2 separate regions of the Homo sapiens genome follow, and region 1 is linked to region 2. The links are contacts of gene promoters, found by promoter capture Hi-C in blood cells and fetal thymus (Javierre and others, 2016). All regions are on one chromosome and are shown on one strand. Each heading gives the region's core, a stretch centred on a gene start or on the middle of the fragment in contact. The rest is flanking DNA. Distances are from core to core; before and after follow the strand shown. Region 1 overlaps PHACTR4 (phosphatase and actin regulator 4). Region 2 holds the start of RAB42 (RAB42, member RAS oncogene family).

Evidence for each region. Contacts are between HindIII fragments. The CHiCAGO score rates a contact against its expected background, and 5 or more counts as called.
Region 1: a fragment that was not itself captured here is called in contact with the fragment with the promoter of RAB42 in region 2 in 14 of 17 cell types (M0 macrophages, M2 macrophages, activated CD4 T cells and 11 more); the score reaches 12.9 in M0 macrophages.

What each region holds. Positions count from the first base shown.
Region 1 is chr1:28,411,726-28,414,806 of GRCh38, forward strand. All of the region lies in intron 2 of PHACTR4 (phosphatase and actin regulator 4), which reads left to right. Among named protein-coding and RNA genes, the nearest start is that of PHACTR4, 44 kb to the left of the region's middle. The HindIII fragment of the contact is 1,580 bases long and covers 542-2,121 here.
Region 2 is chr1:28,591,012-28,594,148 of GRCh38, forward strand. It overlaps RAB42 (RAB42, member RAS oncogene family), which reads left to right and starts at 1,254. Exons shown (of 2, transcript NM_001193532.3): 1 at 1,254-1,733; 2 at 2,683-3,137. The coding sequence starts at 1,501. The coding sequence ends at 3,106. RefSeq lists a silencer at 1,395-1,464 and an enhancer at 2,246-2,982. The HindIII fragment of the contact is 13,184 bases long and covers 1-3,137 here.

The sequences.
Region 1 (3,081 bases), core at 82-2,581, 180 kb before region 2:
CACCAGAATCTTAGAAATCACCACTAAAGAACGTATTCATGTAACCAAATACTACCCATTCCCCAAAACCTATTGAAGTAAAAAATGACATAAAAAAGGAAAAAAAGAAAACAGAAACCACCCAAAAGAAAGAAAGAAAGAACGAATGAACAAAAGAAAGAAAGAACGAATGAACAAAAGAAAGAAAGAAAGAGAAAGAAAGAAAGAATTATTTGTGGTATTCTGGAAATAAAAGTAGTGAGGGATTTTTACGAATAAAGTACCAGAAGGATAGACCTAAGGTCTCTAGGACCTTTTCTACCTGGACAGATGCTTACACATTTCATTATATAATATTTAAATATCATGTTCGTTAATATCACTATTGGTCTCGTTGAAAAAAATGTTAAATGTTGGGAAGCTGTCAAGCTCATTCTGGATGTAAATTTTCCAAAATAGGAATTTCACTTGAAAGCTTGAATTCTATCACTAGCAACAAATACTGTTAATTTTCTTTATTAGTGACAGGCTTACTTTTGAGAAAATGCCTGTCAGCTATCTAAGCTTGAATAACATAGCTTGTTGTTCAGTCTTTCAAGTAAAAATAGTATTCCATGAAGAAAACTGTCTAGTTCAGTTTGCAACTCAGTCACACAAATGCCTTTCCTGGAGATAACCATCATACTTAGTATACAAATGTGCTTTATACATATTTCTGTTTCATCATAAACAGTAATAAAAATATATGTACTAAAGGGTTGATATTTATTAAAACTAATATTTTTTATTGCTTTATCAAGGACATTCTTAAAGTTGAATTTATTTTTCACTGTAACTGTGTAGTTGTGAAGAATACAATGATTTCTGCTACAGTTTGGTGCTGTTGCCTTGATTTGTGTTAAGGTGCTAACAGTTTTGCTCACCATTGCTTTTGTACCATCAGTGCAAGTGTCAACACAGTGGAAAAGGCAAATAATTTTTTTGTATTCTTATGTATTTAGTTTTACCTCTTGGACTTCTGAAAGGATCTCAGGGATCCCCAGAGATCAGCAGATTATACTTGCTTCATTTTCCTGAGGTTCCTAGAGGCCCTTCTATGGAAGTCATGAGTAAAGTTAAGATTTAATCCTGGAGATTGTATTGGGCAGGGTTTCAGTGTGGACTAGGTCTTGGACATTTGACAGAAATATGGTCAGAGGGAGTGATTAGCTCTGTGGTTTCTCCTAAGCAGGAGTACCCTGCACCACTACCCCCGGGCCACAGGAGGTGAGCAGTGGGCCAGTGAGCATTACAGTCTGAGCTCCACCTCCTGTCAGATCAGTGATTAGGTGGAACAGTTTCATCCCAAACCACCCCAACACCCCCGTCTGTAGAAAAATTGTCTTCCATGAACCTGGTCCCTGGTGCCAAAAAGGTTGGGGACCGCTGGGTTAAAGAAACTTTTGTGGAGCGAAATGAGTCTGGAACTCATTAGGCAATCAAGTATGTTCAAAGAAGAAATCCATAAGCATTTAGTCAAGACAGGCTGAGGGCCAGGCTCACCTGGGTACTGTGTTCTTAGCTTTAAAAAGGATAAATAGCAGCAGAGATATTGGTGATGACAGCTTTCAATATATCTCTTGAGTCACATTGCTCCAGTCTGTGTACAGGTGGCCTTGCAGTCTGTAGAGGTGGTACGCAACTGTCATCCTGGGTTATCCAGTCTCCATTTTCCTGACAGCTTTGCTTCTTTCCTGTGTTAGCTCCTTTGTTTCCTAAACCCTCATGTCTTCCTCTGTCTTGGTTGCCAGTAGCTTTTTGATGTTGAACCTCCTGGAATAATTATCTAATTCATTTCTTTTTCCTTTAGATATGTTTCCTGCAAGATTTATTCAACTTTATCTTCTACTTTTATTAAATTTTTCTTTTCTACTATTAGAGTTTAATCTCCAGGAGGTCTTTTTGAAGTCTCTGCATGTTTCTTTTTATACTATCCTTTCATTCTTTCAACAGATTTTCCTTGCCCTGCATAGTCTCTTTTTTTCCTAACATTGTTTTTAAATATTGATTTGGTTTCTTTTATGTTAGAGTTTTTCTCTGATGTCTAGTAATAATTAACTGTCTGCTGATGGTTAAAAGTGAGGGACTAAATAGCCAGTTAGAAGCTTTAAATGTATAGGCAGGTTGCCTTTGGGTGAGCTTCTTGGCCTTATTGTTGATGAACATTCTCATATCAGTATCAGGGTCTAAGGGGCACAGTCTTCCCACTGTGTTTGGATGGTAAGGGGTGAAGAAAACTGACTGAAGAGACTGCTGCATTCAGCATTAATTATGCATATTTTCACTTAATTCTCTTCCATTTTTAATTTTACTTGTATTTGTATTTTATTTTACTTTATTTTTATCTTTTGAGATGGAGTCTTGCTCTGTCACCCAGGCTAGAGTGCAGTGGCGCCATCTCAGCTTACTGCAACCTCTGCCTCCTGGGTTCAAATGATTCTCCTGGCCTCAGCCTCCCGAGTAACTGGGATTACAAGCACCCATCACTGCCTGGCTAATTTTTGTAGTTTTAGGGTTTCACCATGTTGGCTAGGCTGGTCTCGAACTCCTGACCTCAGGTGATCCGCCTGCCTCGGCCTACCAAAGTGCTGAGATTACAGGCATGAGCCTCTGCAGCTGGCCTTATTTTCTTTTTCATTTTATTTTTTTATTTTTATTTTTTGGGGTCAGTCTTCCTCTGTCTCAAAAAAAAAAAAAAAAAAAAAAGCACCGCAGCCTCGACCTCCTGAGCTCAAACAATTCTCCCACCTCTGCCTCCCAAGTAGCTGGGACTATAGGCACATACCACCATGCCTGACTAATTTTTTTACTTTTTGTAAAGATGCAGTCTCCCTATGTTGCCCAGGCTGGTCTTGAACTCCTGGGCTCAAGTGATTCTCCCACCTCGGCCTCCCCAAAAGTTGAGATTACAGGCATGAGCCATTGCACCCAACCCCTTCCATTTTTTGTACCATATCCCTACCATCAGTTGCCTTTTGCGACCCCTTTCCAGAGACCATTTGCTTTACACTTTCTTGGAAAACAGATTCCAAAATTCCGCCAGAGTTAGTGTAGGACAGACAT
Region 2 (3,137 bases), core at 4-2,503:
TTGAGTTTCTACTTTATGCCAAGCGCTGAGTTAGGCCCTGAGGATACAATCATCAGCCCCTGCCCTCAAGGAGCCTGCAGCCTGGGAGAGAGACTGACATCAGAGATGGTCAGAAGTGCATGTGGGCCAGACGTGGTACAGGTTCACACCTGTAATCCCAGCATCCCAGCACTTTGGGAGATGGAGGCGGGCGGATCACTTGAGGTCAGGAGTTTGAGACCACCTTGGCTAACATGGTGAAACCCCGTCTCTACTAAAAATACAAAAATTAGCTGGGCGTGGTGGTAGGTGCCTATAATCCCAGCTACTTGGGAGGCTGAGTTGGGAGGATGGCTTGGACCCAGGAGGTGGAGGTTGCAGTGAGCCGAGATTGTGCCACTGCACTCTAGCCTGGGCGACAGAGTGAGACTCCATCTCAAAAATAAGTAAATAAATAAAAACGAGACTAGAGAGACTAGAGTTGGCTGGAGCAACTGGAACTCCAGCCTCAGTGCCCTGGGTTTCCAGAAGGCCAGCCTGGAAAGGGTGGAGTAAACCTTGGAGGCTCATGTGCTGCCTCACCCTAGCCCCTCACCCAAGCAAAACTCAACCAGTGTCTTAGTGCTTGTGGGACCTGCTTTGTCCCCTTTTGTGGCATCGAAGGGGTGATGAAGGATGAGACAAACCTGGATGTGAGTCCCAACTCTGCTGTGTGACCTGAGACAAGCCGTGCCTCTGAGCCTCAGTCTCCTCAGCTCTAAGAGGGGCACTCCCATGGCCCTGTCAAAGGGTTGCTGTCCACAAAACATGAACTGACCGTTGGCCTCATACATGTTAGTTGTCGAATCCACAGGCCAACTGCACTCCCTTTAGAACTGCAGTTGTCTGTGTCTGTCCTGCCTCCTCAACCAGACTGTGCCCAAGTTCCTTCTGGGGCCCTGGTGTCCAACTCAGACAGGCATTAGAGGAAGCCGTGGGGGCTGTTGAACGTTGAACCTGAACACTGAACTAGAGGCCCCAGGCCGGGGCTAATGAGGGCTCCAGGAAAGGGCTTCTGGGTGGAGAGGGAGCATCTACTAACCACTCACTTCCAGAGTGGCCTTCCCGGGTCCAGCAGAGGGTTGGGCGCCAACTAGGGAACCCACAGAGGAGGCGGGGGGTGGGGCGGGGGAGCGGTGTGGAGCGGGTAAGGGGGTGGGGCTGGAGATTAAGAAATGAGTGAGGTGGATGCTTCAGCGCTGTTAGTCTCCTCCCCATGCCCCTCCTCACTTCATCTAGTTTAGTCCCTTTATCCTGTGAAGTAGGGGTCATCATTAGCCCCCTTTTACAGAGGAGAGAATTGAGGCTTCGAGAGAGAGAAACTTGGCCAGGAGTTTCCACTCGGTCCGACGCCCTCGGTGCCCCGCCGGGTACGGTGGCTGGGCGCGGGGAGCGGGGGGCGGCGCCGGCGGGGCCCCGGGCAGGGGCGGGGTCGGGGCGCGGACAAAACCGCCGCGGGGCGGCGGGGTGGCGGACGCGGCCATGGAGGCCGAGGGCTGCCGCTACCAATTTCGGGTCGCGCTGCTGGGGGACGCGGCGGTGGGCAAGACGTCGCTGCTGCGGAGCTACGTGGCAGGCGCGCCTGGCGCCCCGGAGCCGGAGCCCGAGCCCGAGCCCACGGTGGGCGCCGAGTGCTACCGCCGCGCGCTGCAGCTGCGGGCCGGGCCGCGGGTCAAGCTGCAACTCTGGGACACCGCGGGCCACGAGCGCTTCAGGTGCGGGTAGCCGGGGCGCGGGAGGGACTTCTGGTGGGGGGCTCGGTGAGCGTGCTTTAGGCCACGGCAACTCCCGAGAGGCCAACTCAGAGGTCAGGCGGAGGGCGAGGTCCCTGCCCTGGGTCCCGCCCGGTCCACTGGGGCCAGAACCTCCCCTGCTCGGAGTCATTTTTCCCACGAACACTGCGGGGTGGGTCGAGTCCCAGAGACCAGGAACATCCCTGGCTTTGAGCTCTGGACTCTGGAGAGATGCTGAGTGATACTGGCCCCGGGTGCTGAGAGCTCAGGGGAACAGAGCGGGAAGTGTCGAGGAGATGTGGAAGGGAGAGAGGATCAGCAGGAGTTTGCCAGGAAGAGAACAGAGGAACGAAGACCTAGGTCAGGGCAGCACCAGGCCTTCTCCAAGAATGAGGGATTCAAGTCACGCTTGCTCCCTAACTGGAGCACCCAGACTTTTTTCTTTTCTTTTTTTTTTTTGAGACGGAGTCTCTCTCTGTCGCCCAGGCTGGGGTGCAGTGGTGCGATCTTGGCTCACTGCAAGCTCCGCCTCCTGGGTTCACGCCATTCTCCTGCCTCAGCCTCCCAAGTAGCTGGGACTACAGGCGCCCGCCACCACGCCCGGCTAATTTTTTTGTATTTTCAGTAGAGACACGGGGTTTCACCGTGTTAGTCAGGATGGTCTGGATCTCCTGATCTCGTGATCCACATCCACCCGCCTCGGCCTCCCAAAGTGCTGGGATTACAGGCGTGAGCCACCGCACCCGGCCAGCACCCAGACTGTTAGGAGAGACACAGACACCGAGGCAGAGAACCACGGGGCCGTGTGAAGTGAGCCCTGTTGGGGTGTGAGGCATTCTGTGGATCCCAGGGGGAGGAGGTCCTGCCTCTGGGGGTGTCATGGAGGCATCAGCCTCTCCCAGCTTACCTTTCCACCTCCCTGCCTCCCCAGGTGCATCACCAGGTCCTTTTACCGGAATGTGGTGGGTGTCCTGCTGGTCTTTGATGTGACAAACAGGAAGTCCTTTGAACACATCCAAGACTGGCACCAGGAGGTCATGGCCACTCAGGGCCCGGACAAGGTCATCTTCCTGCTGGTTGGCCACAAGAGTGACCTGCAGAGCACCCGCTGTGTCTCAGCCCAGGAGGCCGAGGAGCTAGCTGCCTCCCTGGGCATGGCCTTCGTGGAGACCTCGGTTAAAAACAACTGCAATGTGGACCTGGCCTTTGACACCCTCGCTGATGCTATCCAGCAGGCCCTGCAGCAGGGGGACATCAAGCTAGAAGAGGGCTGGGGGGGTGTCCGGCTCATCCACAAGACCCAAATCCCCAGGTCCCCCAGCAGGAAGCAGCACTCAGGCCCATGCCAGTGTTGACTCTAGGAGAGAAAGGGTTAAAGCAGTCCCA